Regions from separate parts of the Homo sapiens genome. Here all the other regions are linked to region 5. The links are contacts of gene promoters, found by promoter capture Hi-C in blood cells and fetal thymus (Javierre and others, 2016). All regions are on one chromosome and are shown on one strand. Each heading gives the region's core, a stretch centred on a gene start or on the middle of the fragment in contact. The rest is flanking DNA. Distances are from core to core; before and after follow the strand shown. Region 1 has its middle 170 kb from the start of LINC02694. Region 2 has its middle 22 kb from the start of LINC02345. Region 3 has its middle 49 kb from the start of TMCO5A. Region 4 has its middle 41 kb from the start of LINC02345. Region 5 holds the start of FAM98B (family with sequence similarity 98 member B). Region 6 holds the start of LINC02345 (long intergenic non-protein coding RNA 2345). Region 7 has its middle 130 kb from the start of LINC02694.

The links. Contacts are between HindIII fragments. The CHiCAGO score rates a contact against its expected background, and 5 or more counts as called.
Region 1: a contact is called between a fragment that was not itself captured here and the fragment with the promoter of FAM98B in region 5, in 2 of 17 cell types (naive CD4 T cells and non-activated CD4 T cells). The highest score is 6.0, in naive CD4 T cells.
Region 2: a contact is called between a fragment that was not itself captured here and the fragment with the promoter of FAM98B in region 5, in 4 of 17 cell types (monocytes, M2 macrophages, M1 macrophages and 1 more). The highest score is 7.0, in monocytes.
Region 3: a fragment that was not itself captured here is called in contact with the fragment with the promoter of FAM98B in region 5 in 3 of 17 cell types (M2 macrophages, M0 macrophages and M1 macrophages); the score reaches 6.6 in M2 macrophages.
Region 4: a fragment that was not itself captured here is called in contact with the fragment with the promoter of FAM98B in region 5 in 4 of 17 cell types (M2 macrophages, M0 macrophages, M1 macrophages and 1 more); the score reaches 14.0 in M2 macrophages.
Region 6: a contact is called between a fragment that was not itself captured here and the fragment with the promoter of FAM98B in region 5, in 1 of 17 cell types (monocytes). The highest score is 5.0, in monocytes.
Region 7: a fragment that was not itself captured here is called in contact with the fragment with the promoter of FAM98B in region 5 in 1 of 17 cell types (naive CD4 T cells); the score reaches 5.1 in naive CD4 T cells.

What each region holds. Positions count from the first base shown.
Region 1 is chr15:38,860,254-38,863,166 of GRCh38, forward strand. No RefSeq gene overlaps it. Among named protein-coding and RNA genes, the nearest start is that of LINC02694, 170 kb to the left of the region's middle. The HindIII fragment of the contact is 2,557 bases long and covers 107-2,663 here.
Region 2 is chr15:38,017,217-38,020,162 of GRCh38, forward strand. It overlaps a transcript of TMCO5A not described here. Among named protein-coding and RNA genes, the nearest start is that of LINC02345, 22 kb to the right of the region's middle. The HindIII fragment of the contact is 5,690 bases long and covers 1-2,946 here.
Region 3 is chr15:37,982,396-37,985,095 of GRCh38, forward strand. It overlaps a transcript of TMCO5A not described here. Among named protein-coding and RNA genes, the nearest start is that of TMCO5A, 49 kb to the left of the region's middle. The HindIII fragment of the contact is 706 bases long and covers 1,007-1,712 here.
Region 4 is chr15:37,998,419-38,001,302 of GRCh38, forward strand. It overlaps a transcript of TMCO5A not described here. Among named protein-coding and RNA genes, the nearest start is that of LINC02345, 41 kb to the right of the region's middle. The HindIII fragment of the contact is 3,508 bases long and covers 1-2,884 here.
Region 5 is chr15:38,452,764-38,455,463 of GRCh38, forward strand. It overlaps FAM98B (family with sequence similarity 98 member B), which reads left to right and starts at 1,364. Exons shown (of 8, transcript NM_173611.4): 1 at 1,364-1,469. The coding sequence starts at 1,399. RefSeq lists enhancers at 1,512-1,621, 1,682-1,781. The HindIII fragment of the contact is 3,660 bases long and covers 1-2,458 here.
Region 6 is chr15:38,037,821-38,040,520 of GRCh38, forward strand. It overlaps LINC02345 (long intergenic non-protein coding RNA 2345), which reads left to right and starts at 2,573. Exons shown (of 4, transcript NR_120330.1): 1 at 2,573-2,609. It also overlaps a transcript of TMCO5A not described here. The HindIII fragment of the contact is 9,617 bases long and covers 1-2,700 here.
Region 7 is chr15:38,827,698-38,830,595 of GRCh38, forward strand. No RefSeq gene overlaps it. Among named protein-coding and RNA genes, the nearest start is that of LINC02694, 130 kb to the left of the region's middle. The HindIII fragment of the contact is 1,134 bases long and covers 835-1,968 here.

The DNA of each region.
Region 1 (2,913 bases), core at 135-2,634, 410 kb after region 5:
AATACCCCACCGCGGTTAGGAAAAGGAGTCTCACAGCCTTGGGCCTCCAAAAGAAAGAACCCAATTATATCAGATGCCCATTTCCTTCAGGGGTCATAGAAAATGAAGCTTGCTTCACCTCAGGGGCTCATGAACATTTTTCCCGTTGTTTCTGGATCATCTGGGTTGATTGTGCAAGACAGTTACTTTCCTGTTATGCAGTCACCCAGAAACAGAAGCAGAAGCGGCACACACTCTGTGATCTTTCCCACTTCCTTTCAGCCAATGCTATATTGAACTGTTCCTGAAATCACTCCAAACAACTGCCAATGGTGTTTGCATCTCTTCCTATCCCAAGTTCCCACAATCCCCAGCAGGGGTGTTGATGGTGCCCACAGCCTTTCCTCTTCACCTTGGTAATATCAGGTGAGTAAAACTGGCCCTCTATGCCCATTGTCTCCACCACACCAGCCATTCCTGAGATGTGGAATTCTATAGAAAGCATGTGGGTCACCAGCTGGTTTTAATTAATTGAAAACAATTCTGACTACCTGTTCTGTTCTGGGAATTGTGCTGGGTGTTTGACCCAATATGGAGAGGGGAGGCCCTTCCTGGCAAGAAAGCTGTTCATTTATTCAATTCTTTATTCATTTCACAGTTATCAGCTGCTTACCACATGCCAGATGGTGTTCTAGCTGCTGAGGAATACAGCAGTAAACAAAACCCAAAAAGTTGATTTTCTCATAGAGCTTACATTCTAGTGTGGGAAGAGAAATGATAAACAATAAATATAAATGAGTAAGATATATCAGGTTATGGTGGTCTTTCTGATGTGTCAATTTGAACAGACTATAGCCTTTAATTATCCAATCCAACACAAATCTAGATGTTGCTGTGAAGGTATTTTATAGATGTAATTTAAGTCCATGATCACTTGATTTTAAGAGAGATTATCCTGGAGAATCTGAGTGAGTCTGATTCAGTCAGCTTGAAAGGCCTTAAAAGCAGGACTGAGGCTCCTCTTAGAGGAGAAATTCATGTGTAAGACAACAGATTCAGCCCATGCCCAGGAGTTCCAGCCTGCCCTTATGGTTGGCCTGACCTATGGATTTTGGACTTATTTATGCAGCTGCCACAATTGCCTAAGCCAATCTCTTGCAGCAAACTTCATGTCATCCTTTATTGGTTCTGGTTCTCTGGTTTAACCCCAACTGACTCAGTGCTATGAAGAAAAATAAAGCAGGAAAGGGGATAAACCTGGTTATGGAGTAGACATAAAGACAAAAAATTAAAGCACAATTCACTCTTGCTATCATGCCTTTATGGGTACAGTGGAAGTAGAAATTAATCTACTAGTATCACAAATTTCCTTTCTTCAAAGCAAAGATCCTAAAGCTCAAATCCTGTGGGATATTAAACAGGGAACTTTTTTTTCTGAGCCCTTTTCAATTTCTAATTTCTAAAATAGGAATGCCACCTTTATATGATTAAAATGTAAGTGAGATAAGACTATTATATATAAATTATCTAGCACCCTTCTTGGAACATAATAAACTATCTTCTATTTTTTATTACCTTCTTACTAATACCTGTGAACATGTCTGCTATATGAATATCATGGTAATTCAGCATTGTCTTTACATCATACGTATTCCCGTGTATCTGTGGCCAATTCATACCCAAGGCAGACAGATAGTTAAGCTCCTCAGTGCATGCATTTACTGGTAGAACGCAGGTTGATGAGCCTGGGAAGGTAATGAACTGGGAATTACATATGGATGAAGAAGGATTAGGCTTATCTATAAAAACCAGTCTACTCCATTATTCCCTATCATATTGAAACTTTTCTCAACTTTCTCTTAATTCTGTAGAGAAATATCTGGTACATCAAAATTTCTATTTAAATGTCTTCAAAGTAACCAAATTGATATATCAGTGAACAAGCACTCTTCCATTGCAAGGCTCCAGCTAAGATCTCATTGTCAAAGAACTTCAGACAGTTGGTAGGGAGAGATGAGATGGGGAGGAATGCTCTGTTATGTGAAATATTTCAGAACTGGAGTTTCTGGGCAAAGGAAATAACTGTCATTTTGGTACACGTTGGCATTGAGAAAATGCATAGAAGAGTAATTATCTGCTTGAAACACTCCACATGACTATGTACACCCTTCCTTTTTCTGATTAACTAGACTGGAAAACATATTTCCAGGGCTGTTTTGGCTTTGAGTAAGATGGTACAGTATTCATCCTTGTAGTTTATTTGGAATAGGAAGAACATCTAGCTTGTGGGGGTACATAAGGTGGTGTCTCCCAAGAGTCTCTTAAATAAAAAGAGGCACTCCAAGTCTGTAGTTCCTGGTTCTAGTTTAGCATTTTTGCTGAACAGCAAAGGATTACATTCCCACATCTTCTTGAAATAAAGGCTAGAATGAATCTTCAGTGATTCATTCACTCAAAAGCCATTCTTTTTCATTGGCTACTATGGGCTAACCATAGATCTCATGATAGGGCCACATCTGAACAACTAAGGCAAGTTCCTGTCTTTGTGGTTACTTTGCTAGTGGGAAGTTTAGATGGAATAAATAACATTTATAGAACACTTTCTATGTGCAAGCTCTCTGTCTAGGTAATTAAATGTGGAGCAGTCCAGCAATGGGTAACCTGTGTCCCTGCACATGGGAGGAAGCTTGGAATGGGGACCACGGGCACACAGGAAAATACTGGACACTGTAGTGCAGCTGGTGATGGTGGTAGAGGGCTGAAAGATGCAACTTGAGTCCCAGCCAGGGACTGTGGTTCATCATGAAAAGGGAAGATTGAGAAGTCTTGAAGGAGCTGGAGTTTGGCTAGAATATTAAGGCAGAATTCAGTCTTGGTGAAATAAGTCCCAGATACTTGGATCAGGTAACTAGAACTATGGTAAAAAATCCAGTG
Region 2 (2,946 bases), core at 16-2,515, 440 kb before region 5:
AGAATCAAATTAATTTATAAGTTAATTGCCAAAACTTCTGCCTCCTAATACTAGTAAAGAAGGAGGGGTGATGGAGGAGTGCATAGTTTGGTTTCCTAACGGAGTTCAGAAAAGTTTAAATCTCCGAGAAGCAGGAGTGGGTCATGGAAGCATGGGAGTGCGTGGGGTCTTAGAAATATGGCAGGAGCTGGGCCAGAATCCTGCTCTGTGCAAAGCAACTCCCTAACAAAAATGGTAACCTGCCTGCCGGAGAGGAGCCAGAGAAATGGCTGTGCCTTGTTCAAATTTAGATCGGTATAATGGAAGAAAAGGAAAAGGAAAAAAGCACTCAGTGGTACAGGAAAGGCTTTTAAAGCATTGTCTTCATCATAAGAAGTTCCTGCTTCCTCAGTTGAGGGGCTCCTATTCTGTCAGTCTGCTTACCATTAAAACATCCTAGAAGAAAACACAGCTTTTAGAAGTGCCCACCTACTCACTGCATCTGAGTAAGGGTACTCAGAGGGCACCGCAGGCAGTCATCTGAAAAGCAAGGAGGCCTGCAGATATGATTTGTCTCTGTGTCCCCACCCAAGTCTTATCTCCAATTGTAGTCCCTGTATGTTGGGGGCAGGGCCTGGCGAGAGGTGATTGAATCATGAGAGTGGACTTCCCCCTTGCTGTTCTTGTGATCGTGAGCGAGCTCTCATGAGATCTGGTTGTTTGAAAGCGTGTGGCACTTCCCCCTTCACTCTCTCTCTCTCTTGCTCTGCCATGGGAAGATGTGCCTTGCTTCCCCTTTGCCTTTTGCCACAACTGTAAGTTTCATGAGGCCTCCCCAGCCATGCAGAACTATAAGTCAAACCTCTTTTCTTCATAAGTCACCCAGTCTCAGGTAGTTTTTTATAGCAGTGCGAAAATGGACTAATACACCTGCTTAGGGCTGTGTATCAGTGACATTCACAAATTCTGAAGAAACCCACACTTGATACCATCGTTAATCAAGGCAAGCCTTTACTGGTAAACAGTAATAGACAACAAAGAAGAAAGTCAACAGGCTAAGAGAAGGGCACCAACATAACTAAGCTGAAGACTTAACTCTAAGTAAAGAGCGTTAAAGCAAGAAATAGGAGACAACTTTAAGAAATTTTTAAAATTATTGTCCTCAGAGAGAGTTAAGTGGCCATTAATTAGTAAAATGAAGAAATCTGGTTTCAAAAAAGAAAGCCATTGGAGAACAAGTGCACTCTAGAAATTAAAAACATGACTTTAAAAGTAAAATTTCAGTGGGAGGCAAAATAGTAGAATGAAAATAGATTAATAAAAATTGTTGGCCTGTAAAAACAAGTAATAGAATTCTACCCAACTGGCAAAAAAAAGAGATGTAAATGATTAAAGATAAATGATATGGAAGATAGGTCTAAAAAATTCCACATATAGTAACAGGAGATGAAGAACGAAAAAAATAGAGAAAATGAATGAAAGCAATAATCAAAGAAATAATAAAGAAAATTTCCCTGATCTAAAGTTTTCTATCTTCAGATTAAAAGGGTTCAGTAAGTGAAGAGCAGTAATGTTATTTTTTTTTTTACATACAGATTTCAAAATCCAGGATTAAAATTAAAATATTTTAATTTTCCAGAGAAACACAACAATTTATGCATAAGAAATGAAAATTAGATGGGCATGGAACTTCTTACATACAACACTAGATGTTAAAAGACAATGGAGCTCTGTTTATGAAGTTATGTGGAAAAGTAGTTTAAACCTTAAATTCAATATGCAATCAAAATTATCACTAAGTATGGAGGTAAAGAATATTTTCAGATATGCAATGACTCAGATAGTATACCACCCATATATTCTGAGAGAGAAATAAAAGAGCCCCCAGAATGACTTCTGTAAAATGAAAAATAAATCATAGTGAAGAATTCAAGAAAGAGGAAGATGTGAAACTAAACCAATAAAATAGTAGTGGGCAAAGAAATCAGTAAAATCCTTGAGTCAAAATGATTGCAGATAATGTTGTGAAACTTAATGGCACTGTTAGGAAAAAGATGACTAAAATAGAAGTTAATAATATTTCTAAAACTGAAGCAATCTGGAACTAAAATTCTTAGTAATTTCAATCTCAAGTAACAAGGAAAAGGGAAGTAAAAGCTAACTAGAATATTTATTTTGCATGGATGGGATAATACAAATTCTGGTTAATTCTTCTAAGGAAAATATAGGTCAGTTTATCAGAAGTTTCAATTTTCCTTTTTTTTGTAAATAGACTTTACATTTTAGAACAGGTTTAGGTTTGTAACAAAATTGAGTTGAAAGTACAGAGAAGTCACATATTCCTCCTACCCGTTCACATTCACAACCTCCCCCACTGTCAGCATCCCCCACTAGAGTGGTACATTATACTAGAGTTCACTATTTTCTTAAGACACAGGGTCTCACTCTGTCACTCAGGCTGGAGTGCAGTGGTAAAATCATAGCTCACTGCAGCCTCAAATTCCTGGACTCAAGTGGTCCTCTCACCTCACCCTCCTGAGTAGCTGGGACTACAGGCAGTGCCACTATGTCTGGCTAATTTTTTTTTTTTTTTAATTTCATAGAGACGGGGTCTTGCCTTGTTACCTAAACTGGTCCTGTATCCCTGGCTTCAAGCAATCCTCTAGCCTCTGTCTCCCAAAGCACTAGCATTACAGGTTTGAGCCACCATGCCCAGCTGTGGTTCTATGGACTTGGACAAATGTATAATGACATGTACAGCATCAGAGGTTTTTTTTTTTGATAAATTAAATGTAATTAAAAAAATTTTTTTTTAGAGACAGGACCTTGCTCTGTCACCCAGTCTGGAGTGCAGTGACACAATCATAACTCACTGCAGCCTCAAACTCCTGGGATCAAGTGATCCTCCCACCTCAGCCTCTGGAGTAGGTAGGACTACAGATGCACCACCATACTTGGCTAATATAT
Region 3 (2,700 bases), core at 110-2,609, 470 kb before region 5:
TCTTATGTCTTTATAATTCTATATCTTATATATTACAATTATATACAAATATATATAACACCTATTATATAATAGATATTTTATGTATTATATATTATCTATATATAATAGATATTATATATTATCTATATATAATAGATATTATATATTATTATGATATATAATTGTTTATATATTATTTAATATATTATATATACTATAATTTATAATATATAATTATATATTATATCTAACATATAATATAGATATATAGTAGGTATATGATATATATCAGATATAATATATTAACACATATGTTATATGATCTATGTTTATAATTATATAAATATCTATAATATATAAATATATATAAATATATAATATATAAATATATTGAGTTATATTATATAACAGACATATATAATAGATATTATATTTCATATATATATGTGTGTGTATATATATATTTATATATGATTCATGGAGACAAAGGCAAAGGATGCCTGTCAGTCATCATACTGCAGAAACTGAATCATCCCCTTGGACATGTTTTATTTTTTCTATTCATAGTCCTCTCTCTTCCCATCTCTTTAATCAATCTACCTTTCCCCTCCTCATCGTAGCCTAAAATAAATTGCTGCCTAGAACCATTCAGCTCTCTCTCTTAACTTTTATTTTCTACCCAGTAAAACTAAAGTTTGGGAGCTATCCGTACAGTAAGCTGAGTTCATTCTTCCATATACATGCAAGTGTGTCAGCAGACCCAGAAAGAGCATGTCATGTGCTTGCCATGACACTCACCTTTCCCCCTTATACAAACATGATAATGTTCCATTTATGGGCACTTACGATGTGCTAGGCACTTCACTTTAGTGCTTCATGTGCATCATTGTTTTACACAATCTTCTAAGGTAGATATCATTATGCGCAGTTTCAGTTCACAAATAAGCCAGATTCACTGAGTAAACAGCACAACCTAGGTTCTGAGTTGAAAAAAAACAGGATATATGCCTGTATCTGGCCCCAAAGCTTGGCCTGTCTGTAAAATCTCTATTGCTTCTGACAACAGGCATTGAGCAGATGGCTGGCCAGGGAGATGTTGGGGCACAGCCCAAGGTAGGGGAAAGTTCACCTACCTGTGAAGGGAGAAACCCCAACCTTGACTACATTTATAGAAGAACTAGGCACCAGAGGGACTCTCAAATCACAGACTCATAGAATTGGCAAGAAATTTAGAGATTATTTCTCAGGTACCATGAGGTACTTTCCCAAGATCACACAATTAACTAGTGACAGAGCTAGAATAAGATCCCAGTCTTGTGAGTCCTTTTTTTTCTTTTTACTGTTTTTTTTTTTGTTTTTTTTTTGAGATGGAGTTTCGCTCTTGTTGCCCAGGCTGGAGTGCAATGGCATGATCTCGGCTCACTGCAACCTCCGCTTCCCAGATTCAAGTGATTCTCCTGCCTCAGCCTCCCAAGTAGCTGGAATTACAGGTGGCTGCCACCACACTCAGCTAATTTTTGTATTTTTAGTAGAGACGTAGAGACGGGGTTTCACCATGTTGGTCAGGCTGGTCTCGAACTCCTGACCTCAGGTGATCCACCCACCTCGGTCTCCCAAAGTGCTGAGATTGTCAACTACACTTATGTCTTCTGAGGTCATGAGAGGATACATGTTGCTCATCTAACTCTTCTAAGTCTTACGTATTCTAAGTGTTGCTTCTGGGGAAATAAAGCTTCATATTCCTCTCCATGCTTCTGTAAAAAGTAAGGGGGGCAGGGTAGAGAAGAAAGGGTAACACTTGAAATACATGAAGCTTTTTTTAGCAAAGCACATTAATAAATCTTAAGCTGTGCAAAGTGTGAATGAGGGAGGAGGTGGTAAGTGCTAGAGCTAAAATGCTCTTCATAATAATATAAGGATTTTTTTTTATCACAACTGGGAGACAGAGAAGCAGTAGGAGAGAAAGCTGAACAATGTCATGAGACTCTGAAATCTAAGTTGGTGGAAATGGAGAAGGGACTTTCAGAGGACCAGAAAAGCTAATATTCAATGTTAGAATATTTTCTAAACAGCGCTGCAACATGAGTACATGATTACCTCAATATCCAGTAAAATCTGCCACACATAGTTGTAGATATTTGCTTGTGCAAGTTGCTTCTTGTTGACTGGTTGTTATGGTTTGAATGCATGTGTACTTTCAAACTTCAAATATTGAAACCTATCACCAAGGCAATGGAGTTACAAGGCAGGGCCTTTGGGAGGTGATTAATGTCCTTAAAAAAGAGGCTGCAGAGAACATTTGTCTTTTTTTTTTTTTTTTTTTTTTTTTTTTTGCCTTTCCACTCTTCCACCTTGTGAGGACACAGCAACAAGCTGCCCTCTTGGAAGCAGAAAGCAGCTCTCACCAGACATCAAATCTGCCAGCACATTGATCTTGGACTTCCCACCCTTCAGAACTGTGAGACATTTCTGTTGTTTATAACTCACCCTGTCTATGGTATTTTGTTATAGCAGGAGAAATGGACTAAACTACTCTTACAAGTGAATTTTGGAAGAAAGAAAGAGTCATGTCTGAACTTTAGGTCAATGCTGGATTGGAGATAAACAAATAGCCATTAGTTATAGAATGAAGTATTCCACAAATACTAGAAGAAAGTATTTGTAGAAATGTTCAGGGAAAAAAAAAAAACAACAGAACAGAACATAGAATGGGGGATG
Region 4 (2,884 bases), core at 276-2,775, 450 kb before region 5:
GATATCCAGTTTTCCCAGCACCGTTTATGAAAAGACTGTCTTTTACCCTCTGTGTGTTCTTGGCACCTTTGTCAAAAATGAGTTCACTGTAGAGGTATGGATATATTTCTGGGGTCTCTATTTGATTCCATTGCTCTCTGTGTCTGTTTTTATGCCAGTATCATATAGTTTGGTTACTATAGCTCTGTAGTATAATTTGAAGTCAAGCAATGAAGTTCCTCCAGTTTTGTTCTTTTTGCCCAGGATGGCTTTGACTGTTCTGAGTCTTTTGTGGTTCCATATAAATTTTAGGATTTTTTTTTTATTTCTGTGGTGAATGTCATTGGTATTTTGATAGAGATTGCATTGAATCTGTAGATTGCTTTAGGTAGTATGGACATTTGAACAATATTGATTCTTCCAATCCATGAACACGAAATAACTTTCCATTTTGTTGTGTCCTCTTCAATTTATTTAATCAGTGTTTTATAGTTTTCTTTTTTTGTTGTTGTTGTTGTTGTTTTTTGAGATGGAGTTTCGCTCTTGTTGCCCAGGCTGGAGTGCAATGGCATAATCTCAGCTCACCGCAACCTCCACCTCCCAGGTTCAAGCGATTCTCCTGTCTCAGGCTCCCTAGTAGCTGGAATTACAGGCATGCGCCACCATGCCCAGCTAATTTTACATTTTTAGTAGAGATGGAGTTTCTCCGTGTTGGTCAGGCTGGTCTTGACCTCCCGACCTCAGGTGATCTGCCTGCCTCAGCCTCCCAAAGTGCTGGGATTACAGGCGTGAGCCACCACACCTGGCCCAATCAGTGTTGTATAGTTTTAATTATCATGATCTTTCTCTTCTTTGGTTAAGTTTACATCTAGGTATTTTATTTTATTTGTAGCTATTGTAAATGGAATTGCTTTCTCGATTTCCTTTTCAGATTGTTCACTGTTGGCATATAGAAATGCTACTGATTCTTGTATGTTGATTTTGCAGTCTGTACCTTTAATGAATATGTTTTAGTTCTAGCAGATCTTTTGGCAGATTTTTTAGGTTTTTCCAAATATGAGATTACATTATCCACAAACAAGCAGAATTTGACTTCTTCCTTTTGAATTTGCAGGCCCTTTATTTCCTTATCTTGTCTGATTGCTCTAACTAGGATTTCTAGTACTATGTTGAATAACAATAGTGAAAGTGACATCCTTGTCATGTTCCAGGTCTTAGAGAAAAGATTTTGGTTTTTCCTCATTCAGTGTTATACTAGCTGTGGATCTATCACATATGGCTTTTATTGTATTGAGGTATTTTCTTCCATACCCAGTTTTTTAAGGGTTTTTTTCATAAAGGGATGTTGAATTTTATCAAATGCTTTTTCAGCATCAATTGAAATGATCATGATTTTGTCCTTCATTCTGTTGATATAATGTATCATGCTGATTGATTTGCATATGTTGAACCATCTTTGCATCCCTGGAATAAATCCCACTTGGTCATACTGAATGATCTGTCTAATGTGTTGTTGAATTTGGTTTGCTAGTATTTTGTTGAGGATTTTTACATCACTGTTCATCAGCGATATTGGCCTGTAGCTTTCTTTTTTTGATGTGTCTTTGATTTTGGTATCAGGGTAATACTGGCCATGTAGAATGAGTTTGGAAGTATTCCCCCTCCTCAATTTTTCAGAATAGTTTGAGTAGAATTGGTTTTAGATCATCTTTAAATGCTTGGTAGAATTCAGCAATGATGCCATCAGGTCCAAGGCTTTTCTTTGCTAGAAGACTTTTGATTATGGCTTCGATCTTGTAACTTGTTATTGGTCTGTTCAGGTTTTGAATTTCTTCATGATTCAATCTGGGTAGGTTGTATTTGTCTAAGAATTTAACCATTTCTTTAGGTTTCCCAATTTATTGGCATAAAGTTGCTCATGGTAGCCTGTAATTATCCTTTGAATTTCTGTGGTATTGGTTGTAATGTCTCCTTTTTCATCTCAGAATTTTTTTTATTAGGGTCTTCTCTCTTTTTTTCTTAATCTGGCTAAAAGTTTCTCGGTTTTGTTTATCTTTTCAAAAAACAAACTTTTCATTTCATTGATCTTTGTGTATTTTTATTTAAATTTCATTCATTTCTGTTAAGATTTTTATTACTTCTGTTCTTATACTAATTTTGAATTTGATTTGCTCTTGTTTTTCCAGTTCTTTAAAATGTATAATTGTGTTATTTATTTGAAGTTTTTCTACTTCTTTGAAGGTGCTTATTGCTATATCCTTTCCTCTTAGTACTGCTTTTGCTGTACCCTAAAAGTTTTATGTTGTGTTTCCATTATCATTTATTTCAAGAAGACTTTCAATTTCCTTCGTAATTTCTTCATTGACTTGCTGGTCATTCAGAAACATACTGTTTACCAGTGTTTGTACAGTTACCAACATTCCTCTTGTTATTGATTTCTAGTTTTATTCCATGTGGTCAGATAAGATACTTGATATTATTTCAATTATTTTGAATTTTTAAGACATTCTGTGGCCTAACATATGGCCTATCCTTGAAAATAATCCATATGCTGAGTAAAAGAATGTGTATTCTGCAACCATTGGATGAAATGTTCTGTAAATATCTATTAGGTGCACTTGGTCTATAGTGCAAATTAAGTCAGATGTTTCTTTGTTGCTTTTCAGTCTAGGAGATATGTCCAATGCTGAAAGTTGGATGTGGAAGTCTCTGGCTATTATTGTATTGGGGTCTATCTCTCTCTTTAGCTCTAATAATATTTGTTATATATATCTGGATGCCCCAGTGTTGGGTGCATATACATTTAAAATTCTTATATATCCTCTTGCTGCATTGACCCCTTTATCAATATATAGTGACCTTCTTTGTTTCTTCTTATAGTTTTTGTCTTGAAATCTATTTTGTA
Region 5 (2,700 bases), core at 114-2,613:
CTCGGGAGGCTGAGGCAGGAGAATCGCGTGAACCCGGGAGGCGGAGTTTGCAGTGAGCTGAGATCATGCCACTGCACTCTAGCCTGGGCGACAGTGCGAGACTGAAAAAAAAAAAAAAAGTGTGTGGCACCTCCCTGCCTCCCTGCACCCTCTCTCTTCCTCTTACTCCGGCCACGTGATAGCTGCACTCCCCCTTCCCCTTCTGCCACAACTGTCCATTTCCTGAGGCCTCCCCAGGAGTGGAGCAGATGCCAGCATCATGCTTCGTGTACAGCCTGTGGAACCATGAGCCAATTAAACCCCTTTTCTTTATAAATTACCCAGTCTCAGGTATATCTTTATAGCAATATGAGAGTGGACTACTACAGCTTACCTTTGAGTGTTTTACACATTTATGGGTATGCTTTTTGTTTGTAACCATAATTAGGAAGGCGAGAGCATTACTGGTCTTTATTGGACTGGGGCTACGAATGCTATGTAGTCTGCAATGGAAGGGACAGGTCCATACAAGGGATCAATAGTTATACTTCATGCAGGATTTCCAACAGTTCTGCTAGAGTATTCATGTAGGTGACATGCCTGCTAATAATGATCTAACCTTATACTCTTAGTACCTTTTACATATGAACCCTAAAATACATTTTTTAAATCCTTTAGATAAGAGATTGAATTCTTCATGGATAGTACACAGAGGGTATATTATGTTTTGTTTGTTTGGAACTTTACAGAGAATTCGCCACAATTTTGGAAAACCACATCAACTACCTTACTTTGCTGGCGGTATGTTTGTTGCTTATACAACTAATGCTTTGTCAGCAATGAAGCACATCATCTGAATATGCAGTTGAGGGGATTCTACATAGATAGATGCAAGCATCTGATCACTTCATTGGTCTTCCGCATTTCATAAGGAGAAAAATATTACCTTGTTATAAATTACTTCATTTTTTCCTTCAAGTTGAAGCATCGTCGTGTATATTGATTTAAAAATTATATGTGTAGGCATGTGATATTAGTTACTAATTTTAGCTGAAGATAATTATAATTTTATTTCAGATTTCTGTTATTAAAAAGGTCTGGAATCGGATAGGTTGAGATCAACCCGATACCACGATATTTGCTAAAATTTATTTGAACACACAGAAAAGTCCCAACACAGAGAACTCTTTATTACTATTATTTATTATTTCTACTATTCTTTTAAAAAATTATTATCGTTACACGCAGCGGTTTTAGGCACTATGAAGTGTTTATTGCCTCGGGGCTGGGAACCTTTGCGCCCTTCTTCAGCTGTGCTCTCAGGCAGTTACCGGCCAGACCCGGACCGGAACCTTGGCGCGGTGACGCTAGTTTCCGGCGGGCTACTTAGAGCGCCGAACAGCTCTGGGCCAAAGGACCATGAGAGGGCCGGAGCCGGGTCCCCAACCGACGATGGAGGGAGACGTGCTGGACACACTGGAGGCGCTGGGGTGAGTGCTTTTGGAGACGCCTTTTCCCTGAAAACGCAACCTCTCCTTGGCCTGGCTGCTTAGCCTACTTCCCTTGGGCCTCTGTGGGCCTGGGCGGCCATGTGTAGGCCTCCTTCCCTGCCTCGATCCCTCCGGCGCCGACGGAGTTAAGCGGGAGGCGGGAGAGAAATCTATTTGGGGGGTGGAGCAGGGCCGGAGAGCTGGGGTTCGTGGCCCCCTCTTCGAAACTTCTTGCCTCGAAACTCTGTTGCAGGAATCCGCCGGGTGGCGCGGAGCGGCCCTTCTAGCACCGGTTTTCTGGGCTAGCTCGCGCCCGCAGGTGATATTTGTGTTGACGTAGTTCTGGCGCCCGGAGGGAGGTGCTGGAACCTGAGCTGCTGTTGAGGACTGTTGTCTCCTACAATGTACAACTTGTGGCTTACTTGGGGCTCTGGAGCGAATGGCTTTTACTTTGACCGGAGAAAGTGTTGTAGTTCATTGCGAGTTCGTTCTTTCAACCATTTCGTCCGTTCGTCAACGTGTATATTAGCTTGTATATTAATTTACACATATTTACGTTTGTAAATTTCCCCTAGGCAAGGGAAAAGGATAGTTTTTCAGATTACTCTTGGCTTACATAGTCGCGCAGGCTGCAAGTCTGCTGCCGGCTGGTATTTACAGTGCAGAATGGTAAGTGCTGTGAGAACTCAGGGTGGAGGTGGGAGTAATGTTAATACTTAACAAGTGTGGTGGTTCGTAATCTCCCCCTCAACCTCATCCTGTTTTTTTCCACACAGCTCTTGTCCCCATCCCAAATTATCATGTCCTGCCCATTCATTTGTCTCTTGAACTCTGCTTCTCCCTCGTTTTATTCCTCCTCCTCCCCAAGTCAGCTCCTGGAAAACTGATGCTTTGCATATTTTATTCACCGATGTTTTCCCAGCAACACACTAGAACGGAGTCTTTTACAGTAAATAGTGGTTGAATGAATGAGTAAATGAATGAAGAAAAGCTTAGAGAAGAGTCCACAGCAGTAAGCATAGGACCAGATAGTTGAGTCATACAGTGCACATTAAATAAAGAGCTTGGAGCCATCTGCACATTTGTTTGCCCTGCTACGTGCTGCTGTTTCTTGATAGGGGAAGCTGTGCCTTTGCAGCGTTATTATGAAGCTTGAACCAATCCCACACCCCACTTTATCTTCTCTAAAACTGCATTTGCCCCTCTATCAATTGTTTCTTTAGTTGAACCC
Region 6 (2,700 bases), core at 189-2,688, 410 kb before region 5:
TGGTAAATATGGTGAAACCCCATCTCTACTAAAAATACAAAAATTAGCCTGGCATGGTGGCACATGCCTGCAGTCCCAGCTACTCTGGAGGCTGAGGCAGAATAATCGCTTGAACCCGGGAGGCAGAGGTTGCAGTGAGCCAAGATCACGCCATCACACTCCACCCTGGGCAACAGAGTGAGACTCCGTCTCAAAAAAAAAAAATAAAAAAAAAATACTAACAATAATTGTTAAAGTAAATGAAATCAACTATGTAAATATAAACATTCCTCACCATCCTATTTGCTCCATCAGAGTGTAATTATACATTTTCTTTTATAGATATAGAAAAAAAGTGATGAGACCCTGTTCATAGAAATGTCTGTTCCTACCGTGTCCAAGTAATCTTTGTTTCCTAGCAAAACTCTTCTATGAAGTACATCACATAAAATATTACTCCATCCATTTCATCTCTGTTTCCTATGATGGGACGATGGCACTGCTATAAATAAATATAAGGGGAACCACAGTTGATTCTATCCTCAGCAGAACAAAATTTTGCTTTGTTATGTATCTACTGGTATGAGATATGGAAGATGAAAATTTCTTTTTTTTTTTTTTTTGAGACGGAGTCTCGCTTTGTCGCCCAGGCTGGAGTGCAGTGGCTGCGATCTCGGCTCACTGCAACCTCTGCCTCCCGGGTTCATACCATTCTCCTGCCTCAGCCTCCCGAGTAGCTGGGACTACAGGCACCCACCACCACGCCCGGCTAATTTTTTATATTTGTAGTAGAGATGGGGTTACACCATGTTAACCAGGAATGGTCTCGATCTCCTGACCTCATGATCTGCCCACCTCGGCCTCCCAAAGTGCTGGGATTACAGGCATAAGCCACAACACCCGGCCTCGGAAGATGAAAATTTCAGTGATGCTTGAAACTTTTACTCTACTGGGTTTCAGACATTCATTTCCCATCAATTTTAAATTGCTTCATTCTCCCAACTAGGAAACTTCCAAGTCATCTGAGGTGAGTCTGGTAATAGTTACTCACTGTATGTTATAAGCAGCACGACTTTTCATATTAGTTACTGCACACTGAGTCATCTCTACAGTGCTTGAAATTAAAGTCAGATCACCAAGGAAGTGGAGGACATTCCACATGTATCCCTCTGCTACAGGATAAGATCCACCTTACTCTCCTCACTTAAGTCAGTCAGGAATTAAATGTAACAAGACAAAATGATATGACAAGGACAGTCAAGAGATTCACATCATCAGCTGTTTCCATCTGTCTAGAGGCAGGTGGAAAAAATGCAGGTTTTAATAGAATAGATTTAATTTAATAGATTTAAATAAGCTATAAGTTAAAATTCTGAGTGTAGGGCTGTTAAATATAGATATGGATGACTAAGAAAAATGGAATCATCCTAAGTAAATTCCAAAAATAGAAGTGGTGTTCACCAGGCTGGGCTTGTTTTGCTATTATTTGGCTAAAGAAGTGTAAGAGAAAACGAATGTTAAGTTCAAGATTATAGCTTCACAGTGAGCTAAGTAAATTATAACTACAGTATAACATAAGCTATATTAGGGCATGGCCTCAATTTCATGCATATCCTCTCAGTCCCATAGTCCCTAATAAATAGTAGCTCTCATTACATAAGTTATCGTTCCTCTTGTGTTCTGATCTTTTAGTGACTCTTTTTGGAACAGGATTTGTAGAGACTCCTATATGAGTCAAGCAGACAGAGTGGAACTCTGTTTCTTACTTCTGCCATCCCTATTTTCTCATTCTAGAGTATACCCCACAGGTATAGATTACTCTATAGCAACCAAGCACATACTTGAACTTCCATGGCAGTTTATCTTTTGTGATAATCATACTGATAAGTAAACAGAATATTTGCCTTGACAAGTAAACTCAGTGGCATCCAGCCCAGATTATATAATGGAACCAAATTCTCGACTGTTCTTAATGTTGCATAACAAATTGCCACAAACTTAGCTACACAAACACCACATATTATTATCTCAGTCTTCGTGGGTCAGAAGTCTGGGCACGAATTAGCTGGTCCTCTGCTCAGTTTCAAAGGCTGCAATCAAGGCATTAGCTGGGCCACATTCTCATCAAAGGTTCAACTAGGGAAAAATCCACTTCCAAGTTCATCCCAGTTGTTGACAGAATTCATCTCTTTGCAGCTACATAACTGGAGCCTCAGCTCTTCACTGACTGTCCTCAGGTTCCAGGGGCCACCTGCAGTTCCTTGCCACATGGATTTCTCCAGCATAGCTGTGTACTTCATCAAGGCACAAGGAGAGTCTCCAGTCTACCAGAGCCCTATGTAATGTAACATAATCAACAAAGTGACGTCCCATTCATATTCAATTGGTCAGAAGCAAGTTACAGTCCCCACCCAGGTCAGAGGGAGGAGATATGACAAAGAAGTAAACATCAGGAGGCTGGGACAATGGGGATACTTAAGGTCCATCCTGCTACAACTTCCACAATGGCGTCTTGACCATGAGGGCTCCACAGACACTGAAGCGGTCACCCAGGCTGCAAGTCTTGGAGGCATTCTCTAGGAATCACAGTCCCATTCTTCTGCAGGCAAACGGAGTCGCCATATGACCCAGTAAGTTTACTCTTAGGTACATTCCCTAGAGAAATAAAAATATATGTCCGTGCAAAAACATGTATGTGAGTGTTCGTAGCAGTGTTATTCA
Region 7 (2,898 bases), core at 152-2,651, 370 kb after region 5:
GAAGGGTATTTTTATTTCAATGTAATTAGGGAAGGTTTCCTTGCAGAAGTGATGAATGCTTTCTTTTTTGTGCTTTCCTTGAGGCATTAAAAAAAAAAATCTCTATTCTGAGATCTTGGCAGTTCTTTCCAGGAGCTGAATTTGTCCCCTTTGCCCCTTCTCTACACCTCTCCCAATTGCTCTAGATCCAAAGAAACCATGATCTGAGCTGTGAAGTGTTCAGAGTCCTAAGTTCTAACTCCAATGAAGCTCTCACCTTACACAGTACCACATCCAAAAGGGGCCCAGGGCTTTTCTAGGGATCTGTCCTCAAGTTGGAAGCCAGGGGTTCTCTGGGCTGAAAGTCTTTTTTGATCAGAGAAGCCAAGCAGGGTGACACCCCAGTCCCCTGAAGAGGCCACAGAACTTCAGATATATATTTCACATCATAGCACTCAAGTTTAGGCAGTGTTTTGGACAACAAATGTCTGGGGTGGAAATTGCGTGTATGCTGACCGTGAAAATGAAATTAGAGTGTTCCTCTGTCCTTGAGAGCAGGAATTCCATTGTTTGGCCCCATGTGACCTAAATTTGACTCTGAATATCTTTGGATACCACTAATAACCATGACTATTGAATGGTGGGAAGGTGATGACATGAATTTCCTCAAACTCAGAGGGACATTCCAGAGGGAAACTGGGTGACTCCAGTGTTAGCTCTTTTTCTGCTTAGCTATCAGGGGAGTGAATTGTACCTCAACTGGTTCTGGAGCCTTCATTCCTTATCTCCATTAGACGTCAGGAAATGTCTCTAAGCCCTAATCACCCGATGGTATTTTATAAAGCACTATGCCTAAGCTTCCCTTTTCAGTTGAAATGTTGAGGACTGAAGTGGGCAATGAAGACCTTGTTTCTTTGGCTACTAGCCAACCTGGATTAAAGAAGAAAAACAGCTTTGACAGAATTTCTTTTGAGGTGGTCCAAAGACTGTTTTCTGGAACATAAAAAGCATCTATATTCCACTGTGATTTTGTTAACTGTTTGCAGTAAAGTTTGAAGGTGTTTGGCCCAATCTGAATACCAGTTAACCCACGATCTCTGTTTGATACATCTATCCCCAGCTGGTGACATGCTCTTATTAATCCTTTGATCTAGTTGGGTATCTAGTGTGTGGTGCTGAAACAAAATTTTACCCTGTGCACGAATCTCGCTTCTCCATCTTATTGAAAGATGAAAGCATAAGATGGGACATGAGGCAGAAGACAGGGTTTTGGTATCCAGTTCTGGGGCTTGAGGACATTTTAAGCCTCAATTTTATGTATAAAATGGCAACAAAGACTTCTATTTGTCACCATCATTGAAAATAATCAGATGAGATAATGAATTAAAAGTGCTTTGTACATCAAAAAGCCCTGATTAAACAAACACTACTTCTAAACAACTTGATGAATACAACTCCTACTAATATAGACAGGCTAGAAGCAAACTTTAAGCATAGATCTAAATTTTCAAGGAATGGAAAGTGGCTCAATCTTAAGTATCTTTTCACATGACTTGCTCTCTGTTTGGACATTTCCGAGAACTGAAAGTTACCATGTTGCTAGAAACTCATACAGTCATTGGAGGTGTTCTTGGTGCTGAGTGATAGAGCCACTGGGGGTGTTATTTCCCAACAGAATTTCCATTGTCTGCTGAATTTGTTTTTGTTGGCTTGACTCTTCTATTGAAATCTCCCTGATATCCTGTTATTAGGAAACTTGGGGATTATTTTCCCTTCTGTAAAATGGGGATAATATCCCCTAGGGTTTTTGGAAGATTTACGATGAGATATTCTCTGTAAAGTACTTACGATAAAACGTTGTCCACAATATGTATATAATAAATGTTAACTATTACTATTATTGCTGTTATTACTTTGATTACAATTATTGGGTGAATGACAAATTGTAATGGTCACTTTTCTCCCTTTGACCAGTCATTGACTAAATTAAGCTTCAAGTGCTTTTGGAAGGAAGAATATGTGAGATATCTAAGAAAAGTTGATAAAATGTTATCTTCTTTGATAATAGAATGACCAATCGTTGACTTTTTTTTTTTTCCTTCTTTTGAATGACAGAGAAATGCCAGCTCCCTGTAAACATGAGAAAGCCCAGATGAAATAAATAAGGTGCTTCACATTCTGCCTCTCAGCCACATGCTCTGGGCAAGAGATTCTAATTCTTCAGAATAGCCACTTCCCAAGTTCAAATGGGGCCATCCTTCTTCTCTGGCACTGGCAGTGAGTGCTGGGGCAGTCTGTATCATGTTATGGCAAATTACCTTGAGGTCACAAGCCAATTTTTTGTTCCTATAGAAACATTGACTGTGAGAAGATAATGGCCAATGTGTTTTAAGCACTTTGTATTTGCAAGGGACTGCTCTAAGTACTTGATAAACATCAACTTCTTTAATCCTCACAACTCTATGAGGTAGGGATAATTAGCATCATTTTCCAGGTAAGGAAACTGAGGCCCAAAGATGTTAAGTCATCCAGACAGTAAATGGTTGTGTCAGGATTAATGCACAAGCACCTTCATTCTTGACCATTACCCTCTGAAAAAAGGGCTAAGGTGGAGAGTGTGGCTCTGGGGCAGGGCAACTCTAAACAGGAAACATGCTCCTTCACAAATGTGCTGGATTCTACCTCTTTCAGTTAAAGATAAAAGGAACCTTTACGTGTGAACTCAGTCTTCTCTCCAGGGTCTTTAGCTGACAGAGTGCCATCATTTTGCATACAGATATAACTCTTATTGTCTGTGGCTTCCATCTTTTACTTCAGACTATATGTCTGGGTTGAGTGGTTCAAATAATGGCAGATTATAAAGTGCTTTCATTTATTCCAACTCTGTGAAATAAGAATTTCATAGTGAGAAGCTTCCCA